Linked DNA regions of Homo sapiens: region 1 is linked to region 2. The links are contacts of gene promoters, found by promoter capture Hi-C in blood cells and fetal thymus (Javierre and others, 2016). All regions are on one chromosome and are shown on one strand. The core of a region is centred on a gene start or on the middle of the fragment in contact, and the rest is flanking DNA. Distances in the headings are between cores, read along the strand shown.

Evidence for each region. Contacts are between HindIII fragments. The CHiCAGO score rates a contact against its expected background, and 5 or more counts as called.
Region 1: a fragment that was not itself captured here is called in contact with the fragment with the promoter of ARHGAP31-AS1 in region 2 in 1 of 17 cell types (non-activated CD4 T cells); the score reaches 6.1 in non-activated CD4 T cells.

The regions. Positions count from the first base shown.
Region 1 is chr3:120,352,601-120,357,523 of GRCh38, forward strand. It overlaps the pseudogene BTNL12P. Among named protein-coding and RNA genes, the nearest start is that of LRRC58, 5.7 kb to the left of the region's middle. The HindIII fragment of the contact is 8,642 bases long and covers 1-4,923 here.
Region 2 is chr3:119,319,554-119,324,430 of GRCh38, forward strand. It overlaps ARHGAP31-AS1 (ARHGAP31 antisense RNA 1), which reads right to left and starts at 3,207. Exons shown (of 2, transcript NR_046748.1): 1 at 3,061-3,207. The region is part of intron 1 of ARHGAP31 (Rho GTPase activating protein 31); the gene reads left to right. RefSeq lists enhancers at 2,878-3,735, 3,736-4,592 and silencers at 3,155-3,514, 3,565-3,914. The HindIII fragment of the contact is 4,466 bases long and covers 523-4,877 here.

The sequences.
Region 1 (4,923 bases), core at 804-3,303, 1.0 Mb after region 2:
ATTAAATGTGAGCATCTTCTTACTGCCCAGTATAATAACCCTTCTCTATCTTAGCTAACGTGGATGTATCTCTTTTCACTGCAGCCAGATGGGTTTAAATGAAGCAGCATCCCCCAATCTTACAGTGGCCCTTGAAACCCTCCAGTCAGCCTGGAGAATACTGAAAACTTTCTGGGAGGTAAAAGAGCTGTGGTGGCTTGTGAACCCCCACAGTGATGGGGTTCATCTGTGGCTAGCTGAAAGAGATGCCTGAGAGGGGAGTGGAGGCACTGGAGAAGGTAAAGGACAGAGGAGACAACAGAATATGTTACATAGGGAAAGGAACATGGGTTACAGGGAACTGGGAAAGTACATGGCCTGTTTGTCCACTTATCAGAACTTCACCATTATGTCAGGCTTGGCCAATTGAATACATTTCAAGATAAGTCTCTTGACTGGAATAGTATTGGACATTTAGGAGACCAAATGAATTCTCCTCCTCCTTCAGCTACCCTTTCTAGGCTTCCTGAAGGCAGGAACTGCATCTGTTTACCATGGTATCCCCCAAGACATCGTAGGCAGCAAATAGTGAGTGAACGCAATAAATGCATGAATAGTTTTTGACATACCTTACTTAAATAGGCCCTATTGACCTACTGACTGCAGAAAAAACAAGAAATAATCTAAGTAGAGAATCCTTTCATAAACCATTCTAGTTAGGAGGCAGCATACTGATGCAGTTAAAAGAGTGGGCTTTGGTTTTTATCAGATACAGGTTTCAAAACCCACCTCTGGAAATCAGATTTCTCTTACTTAATCTTGATTTTGTTACTTAATTTCTGTAAGGCTTGATTTCATCATCTGTATTATAAAATATATTATCTGTTCCATAGGGTCATTGTAAGGTGAAAATCTAAAGTGCTTAGCATAGTACCTAGCACAAAGTCAATACTCTGTAAGTAGTGGCAATTATTATTATTAGCTGTAATAGTAGTTAATGTTATAACTATTGCTCTCTGCCACTTGTTATATCATGATCAGGGTAGAAAAACAAAGTTGAGAACAGTCTTTACTCATGATTGCACAATTTCCTACATAAACCATGGTCCTCTGCTCTGGGCCATTCTGTGTCTTAGGGATTAGGATTTGGGAGGTTGGTCTGACCTCTCTTGCCCAAGATTTATGCTTATTGTCTTTTTTGTCTTCAAGGTATATCAGGACCTCATGCCTGCTAAACCCACTCCTACCTTTATTTTAGCCACCTCTGATTCAGACTGTCCTTTCTAAAGCACTGCTTTCATGATTTCAACCCATCTCTTTTCCTCCTGCCTTTACCCCATGTTTCCTCATTGCTTATCAGATGAAGGCCAGTTGCTTAGGCTAGCATGCAAGGTTTTGATTTATTTCCACTGCTAAATCCCTCTCAGTCTGGTTTATCCATATTGGCCTAGGATGGTTTAAAGTTCTGCCATCTCCCTGCCAATTGTCCAAATCTCAAAAACCGGTTACTCTATGTTTAGGGCAGCATTGAAAGTAGAAGGAGCTATAGTCTTTCAATCGATCCTGAGGAGGAGTTGGCTTCTATATTTATAGGGACCAAGAGTAAGTCTTCAGCCAGTTTTGTGATATAAGGTCTAGCAGTTTGATTTTCAGCAGTTCTTCCTCTGCCACAGTTTGCTATTGCTGTAGAATTGATAGATTAAAATGTCTCCTGAAATATGTCTCCGGGCTTCTTTATCGAAGTTTAGTCCCTTTTATTTTGAAGATTCAAATAATGACATCTTTGGATATCTTTGGAGTCTTTGACTAAGCATTTGTTAGAGCTATAAAAGCATCTTCATGGCTACTCCCGTTGAATTCACTCCATTTAGGGGTTTATCTTAGACCCGGTGCGGTGTTTTCCTTATTGATTGTTTTGGGAGTTGAAGTGACTATCTTTTAAATTTTATCCACTTGCTCAGCTTATGTTGGTTCCATATTGGCTTGTTTGACCTTTTCATAGATAGCTAGTCATAACTACAACTATAAATGAGCTAAAATAATTTTAATCCCTAATTCATTCACAGATAGACATTGAGTACCTACTGTGTGTAAGAAACTGTACTATATATTGCAAGGTATAAAAACTAGTAAGAATAATAGGTAATGTTTATTGGTTATTTTATAAGTGCCAGGCACTGTCCTAGGGGCTCTGTCTAGGGATTATTTTTATTTAATCCTCACATCCCTTCTATAAGGTACATATTATTATCATCATTCTTCAGACAAGAAAACCGAGATGTGGGAAAATTAACTAACTTGCCAAGTCACATATTTATGGTGTGCTGGATAACAACATAGTAAAATGTTCATGATTTTGTTCAAATACAATCACTGCCTTCAAGAGATTTACTGTCTGGTAACAGAGATTAAACATGAACCTATAAAGAAATCCAAGTTAAAAAGGGCAAAAGATCTGAGTAGACATTTCTCCAAAAAAGATATAAAAATCACTGATAAACACATGAAAAGGTGATCAACATCATTAGCCATCAGGGAAATACAAATTAAAATCACAGTGAGCTACTACTCATACCCACTAAGATGGCTAAAATATAAAAGACAGCTAGTAAGTGATGGTGCAGATGTAGAGAAATTGGAACCCTTATAGACCAATACTGGGGATGAAAAAGTGGTGCAGCCACTTTGGAAAATAGTCTGGCTGTTCTTCAAAAGGTTAAAAAAAATAGTTACCATATGATCCAGCAGTTCTACTCCCAGGTATATACCCAACAGAAATGAAAACATACGTCGTCACAAAAACTTACACATGAGTGTTCATAACAGCATTTTTCATCATAGTCAAAAAATAGAATCAAACCAAATCTCTACCAACTGATGAAGGATAAATAAAATGTGGTATTTACATACAATAGAACATTATTCAGCAACAAAAAGAAATGAAGTGCTGATACATGTTACAACATGGATGAATCTTGGAAACATTATTCTGACACATAAGTGAAAGAAACCAGTCATAAAAGAACACCTACTGTATGATTCTATTTATATGAAATCCTCCAAAATAGGCAAATCTTTAGAGACAGAAAGTAGATTAGTGGTTGCCGAGAGCTAGAGGGAAGGGAGAATGGGCAGTGGTTGCTAATGAGTACAGGGTTTCTTTTTGGCAGGATGAAATTGTTCTAAAATTCATTGTGGTGATGGTTGTACAACTATGAATATACTACTAAAAAATCATTGAACTGTACACTTTAAGTAAGTAAATTGTATGATAGGAAAATATATGAAGTATATATCAATAAAGTTATTTTTAAAAACATGAACCCAAAGTAACTAAAATATAAAATAACATTTGGTAACTCATACAGAAACATAACCAAAAGCTATCAAAGTTCAGAGGAAAAAGACCATTTAGGCTACCACAGTTAGGATAGCTTTCAGAGGACAATGGGATTTGGATAGAGCTGGGATGAAATATACAAAATTGAAGGAAAAAAGAAAATATTTCTTACAAAGCATAGCAAAAAGGAGAAAATTATAGCATATATTTGGGAAATGGTAAGGGGTCTGGTTTGGTTGGCATGCTTAGTGCTGATGGTTAGAATAGACAAATATTGATATGCTTTAGATAATTATGGGAGAAAATATTTAAAATTTTAACTTTGCCCCCAAAAATCTAAGGTGTACTGTTAAGATACAGCACAGAGGAAGAGTAGTAGACTTTGAAATGATAGGTGTGTCTAGGCCTTGGAGAAAGAGGTATGAATACTAGGTAGGAGATCACCTCTGATTCTGCCCTCACTGGAAGCTCCAGATCCCATTTCCTTAACTTGTGTTCTTTATTAGCCTTGCAGTCTTTTCACGAAGACTGCAAGGCTTGGGAGAGTCTGTGGATTGTGGCACCTGTAGAAATAGTCTTATATCTGAGTACAAAGTATTCCTCATGGTTTCTCAATACTGTGCTAGCATCAAGATATTCCTCCTCTGCTTCAGGTGAAAGTCAAATGTAAGTCAAGCCTCAGCCCCCATAGTATGAATTCGAGAAGTGACACAAACTGGTCATAATTATTTCATTCCGTTATATTCCAGTTGTTTTCTTGAGAAAACCAAAACAAAACCAGGGCTAAACAACAAATCCAAAACAAAAATTCTTCAATACGTTGTGTTAATGGATATAGCTTTATTTTGAAACTGCATAGTTGTTTCCTTCACTCAGCCACTAAAAGTGATTTGAGAAACTGAGAGGACCTGGAGATGCAAAACCAGGAACTAACTGCTTCATTCATAGTCTGATGGGGTGAGGAACTTAGGGAGAAGCTGCCTCTGGCACCCATTCCCAGCAACAGGCCTCCTATTCTTGTCTTCTTCTTATTTACCCTGTTGTAATAAGTCTCTTTACCAAGGGAAGCGTTCCTTCAAACCCTTCTCTATCATTTACCTAGACTGTGCTGAGTGTCAGGACTAGGTCAACCCAGCTCAGACCCAGATGTAACCCATGTGCTGTGGGGTTGGAGAGAGAAGGGTTCCCTAATAAAGAATTGGCCACTGCTGAACTTGAGCCTCCAGGGTAATGGAAAAGGCTTCAAACAGGAGATACAAACCATGCTTATCCCTAAGAAGTAGAGAGTAAAGAACAAATCTCACTCTCTCCTTCCTGTACTGTCGCTCACTGTACCACATTATGTGTATAAAGTCAGTCTCTTCATTTCTTAATTTTTTCAGTTACAAAGTATTTATTTTAATGTAAATGTAAAAGGTCACTTTAGAAAATTCAGAGATATGAAAGGAAAACAACTGAAATCACACACACTCTCGCCATCCAGAAACAACTATGGTTTACATTTTGGCGTATTTCTTTCTTTTCCTATGTGTACATATTTCTTCCCACAAAGTTGAAATCATACATATATGTATATGTATATTAAGTTTTCTATTTTAATTTTT
Region 2 (4,877 bases), core at 1,957-4,456:
AACACAGTCATATCCAACCCAAACATTTGCGCTTATTTCATTTAATCAACAAGAATCTGTAGATAACCAAACATTTTCCTAGTACTGAAGCATCATATCCCCTGGCTCTAACAGACTTTAATTTTAAAAGTCTAAAAAGAACCATGAGCGGTTCCCCCTCTTTCCCTATAATCTATTCCAGTGATTGGAAAACAGGGTGGTGAGGTTGGTGAGATGGTCAAGTTGTTAGAGGAAGGCTGTGAATCCACGAATGTCCAGTGTCTGACCCTCAACCTAGTGACACCTCCCATTTCATTCCCAGTAAAACGTGTACAGCTTTCAATAGGTGAGGGAGGGACAATGATAAAAAGCCCACACAAGGTGAGATCAGCAAGGGATCTCCCCTGGCAGGGGAAGAATCAAGGGAGGGGAACTGGAATGACCCAAGATTTCCTTAAGCCCAGACCCACACCTCTCTGTGTATGGCTTGGTAAATTCTACATCTACCCCACAGAGAGTCCTAGATTTCAATCCCAGAGCAAAAGCTTTGCCTTTTATCATAACACAGGTCCTCACCAGTTTATGCTACATTCCTTGTTCAAGGTATGGTATGTAGTATTACTTGAAGGATATTGCTGCATTCTCCCTTCTACCAGATCCTCCCACAAGACTGAACAGTTCTCAAACTAGCGAAACTTGGTTTTATCAGTGTCTATTCTCTGCTGCTACATAAAGATCTCCAGGGATACAGGGCACTTAGACATGAGGCTTTCTTGATATTCTTCCTTCCCTCCCTATAGAAGAGGAATAGGCCCCAAATAAGGGGCTACATGATCATTAGGCATTTTCCAACCCAAAATAAGCATACTCATCCTATTGCTAAGGTAAGATAATAATACTGGTATCAACAACCTTGGGCCAAATGTGAAGATGTTAAATTCATTTTGCACACCTATTCTTCAGGATTAAAAAATATTATCCTGATAAATACAGTAAACCCATTGTAAACAAAACTTTTCATGATGCAGTAACCTTACCCATTACTCCCTTACCTCCTATCTTAAATAATGTTTGAGTGTATTCTTCCCTTTGCCATTAAAAGTTCCATTACTTCTGCCCACAAACCAGCAAGTCCTCACCAATCAAGAATCAGCTGCGATCTCATCATTTTCTTTTTGTGTATTCTAAAACTCAGATGTTTTCTCTCCTCTGGCCTACTGTGGCATGCCCTTCCCTTTCACTAATATCTTGGACATTGATATGGTTTGGCTGTATCCCCACCCAAATCTCATCTTGAATTCCCACGTGTTGTGGGAGGGACCTGGTGGGAGGTAATTGAATCATGGGGCCAGGCCTTTCTCGGGCTGTTCTTGTGATAGTGAGTAAGTCTCACGAGATCTGATGGTTTTGAAAAACGGGAGTCTCCTTGCAAAAGCTCTCTCTTCTCTTGAGTGCCTTTAATCTTCCACCATGACTTGTGGCCTCCCCAGCCATGTGGAACTGCAAGTTCATTAAACCTCTTTCTTTTGTAAATTGCCCAGTCTCCAGTATGTCTTTATCAGCAGTGTGAAAACGAACTAATACAGATGTATAAACATTGACCCATCCTCTTTAACTTCCATATACCCTTTTTAAATTGCAGAAAAATCATTCAATTAGTGGAAAAATTGCTCAAGTAAATTTTATCATCTTTCACCCAGGCCCGGTGATTTCCTATTCAGCAGCAATTTCACATATATATATATACTATATATATATATATAGTATATATATATGTATTATGTATATATAATTATATACTATATATGTAAAATTTTAAAATCAATGTTTTCATACTTTTTAATAATACATGCTTATCCTCATTGTAGATAAATTGGGAAATACATAAATGTTTTAGAAAGAAAAAAATACTTGTATGTAATTCTATCACCCAAAGATGTAACATTTTGGTGGATTTCCTTCAAGTGTTTTTTTTCTATGTACATTTTCATATTGTGATTACACTGTGTGTGTGTATATATATATTATATATATATATGATTTTGTGTCTTGCTTTCTTATAACCGAAGTCTTTATTCAAGTTATAAAACCCTACATATAACATTTTAAGGCTCCGTAGGTTTTGTTTTGTTTTGAGACGGAGACTCGCTCTGTTGCCCAGGCCAGAGTGCAGTGTCACGATCTCAGCTCATTGAAGCCTCTACCTCTCGGGCTCAAGTGATTTTCCTGCTTCAGCCTCCCAAGTAGCTGGAACTATAGGCCCACACCACCACGCCCAGCTAACTTGTTTTTGTATTTTTAGTGGAGACGGGGTTTCGCCATGTTGGCCAGGCTGGTCTTGAACTTCTGACCTCGGGTGATCTGCCCGCCTCAGCCTCCCAAAGTGCTGGGATTACAGGCGTGAGCCACCACGCCCGGCCCATAGTAGTTTATCATATAAATATGCCAGTTTATTCCCTGCCTCCATTACTGGACATTTATAGTTATGATTGTTTTAATTTTATGAACAAGCCCACAGTGAATATTGTGAGGCATATGGCTCTTTTGTTATGTAATATTTCTTTGGAATAAACTCCCAGAAGTAAAATTGCTGGATTAAAAGGTGTGTTATTAGTCAGAACTCTCTTGGTTGTGACTGAAGGAACTCTGACATAAGAAAAAAAGTGGGGGTTAATTACTGATTCATAGAAGCAAACTTTGGCAAAGACAAGAAGGGAGCTGGCTTTAGGGAGCTGGGACCAGAGGCTGGAATTTTAACCTCCTGACTTTCTCCTTGTCTCTTGAATTTATCTTAGACATAAATGAAAATAGAGGTAACTCAAAGCGTCTAACCCACAGTGACAATTGCTGCTCTGTTTTTAGAGCCGGGATTTTGTTCGTGGACTTGCCTTGCCTGGTGGTTGAACTTTGCAGCCCCTTCCTCCTCCGGGCAGCTTCTCTCAGTGGCAGCTGTGTTCCCCATGGTTTGTCCTGGATGTCTCCCTTGTGCCATCCTTGCAAGCCCGCGGCCAGCGCCTCCACCCACGCTCCGGCCTTGCTCCCACTCCCACCGCTCTGCCACCTCCCACCTCAGCCTCCCACCTTGGTGTGGAGGGACCAGCGTCGAAGACAAAGGAATCTCTGACGAGAACCGGCCAGTCCGGGAGGGACGGCGGGGAAGGGGGTGCTGCTCTGGCGGAGCCCTCACTTCACTCGCTTCCCCTCGAGCGCCCCTCTAGGCTGGGGCCCGGCCGCTCTGGGCCTGCTCCTCCTCCCGCTCCTGTTGCGGGGCACCAGGTCAGACCCTACAGGGGGCTCCGCCAGGGGGAGGGGGAGAGGGGCTCCCTTCAAACTCGGCCCGGCCGCGGGGGTCCCGGGTGCCCTCTGCTGGGCTCCTTCCACGTCCTTGTCCCTCCTGAACTCCCGTTCCAGCCCTGCCCCCGCCCCGCAGTAGGGAACGGACTCGTTTCTGCCCCGCCCCGGGGTCCGGGCGCCCGCCCGGCGCTTCAGCTTCAGCAACGTCAAGGCCACGTTCCCTCCGCTCCAGCTCGAAAGACGGTGGCGCTGACTCTGCTCTGCGCGCCGCAGCTTCCTCCCGCTGCTCCGCCCAGCGGTTTCTGATCCCCTTTCGGCGCTGGGGACTCACACGCTGCGGCGACAGGAAAGCCCGCGCCCCCGGCCGCTTCCCGGAACGCCCTCGGGGACGGCTGAGTCACTTGGCGCCCGCCCGCGCGGCCACCGAGCCCAGAAGCGGGGAAAGCCCAGAAGCGGGGAAACCCCAGGGACAGCCGCCGGCCCTGGGGGCAGCCAGCGCTCCAGGCCGCCCAGCACCTCGGGCCCGGATGGGCTTCTCGCGCCCCAGGGCTGCGGCCACACCCCGCCGGCCCAGACCCCGCGGGTAGAGAAAGGAGGTGCAACCCTGAGAGCCAAGACGTTGGGCTTGGCTTTGCTTTGCGTTTCTTTCCTTTTTTCTTTTGTTTCTTTTCTTCTTCTTTTTTTTTTAACCACATCCAGGAAGAGGAGAAACCTGTCTCATGACAGGAAACGAAGAGGGAGGATGCATCCGAACTGAGGGACATTGTTTCAGTTGCCTCACCTGACATACTGTCTCACCTGAGAGAGGGAGGCCGAAGAGGCAGCCAATGGTGGCTGGAGCAAGCCCTGTCCTCGTTACCTGGGCTGTGGCTGAGCCCTGGGGCTCACCGGCTGTATGGCCCTGGGCAAGTCCTCGGAGCCTTAGGTTCTCTGCAAAATGGAGATGATGTTTAATAGAAAATGTTTCTATAACTTTTGTGGCTTACTTTTTGAAAAGCGAGGGAGGGACTTTTGTCCTTCCCTCCTCGCATCTCAGTCGCAGTGCTGGTTCACAATCAGGCTGTTAACGCGGTTTCCACATTTCCTGTCCTCCCCCTTCCCCTTTCCTGCTGGGAATAAGAAGGTGGGCCCCCAAGGAGACAGAGGGTACACTCGTAAATGAAAAAGAAAAGTCAGCACAAGGACCCTTTGCTGCGGAGATTTCTTTTTCCAGGTATCCTAAGTGGGGCTCTTGCCATCCCTGCCATCCCTGCTCTACACCGAAGGGGTGAAGTCCTGGGACTCTGTTATGCCCATCTGTATGTAATCCTAGGCAAGATTATTACAGTAGCGCTTTCCTCTTTTTAGAATATACCCTTGTCTAGCCCCTACCCCATCTTCAGGACAGTAAAGGTTCTCAACTCACTTCAAACCCTCCTAGCCGTCTAGAACAGTGGCTCACAACCGCAGACCCATAGGAAATGTAGGGCCATCTATGTAATAAATTTATCCGGATGTATTATAACAATTTTAAGGTTACACTTGTCCTTTCTTGAACAGGACAATTCTTTATTCTAAGACTATATGCTTCATAGTTTTAGTTATTTTGAATTGTCCATTCTGTT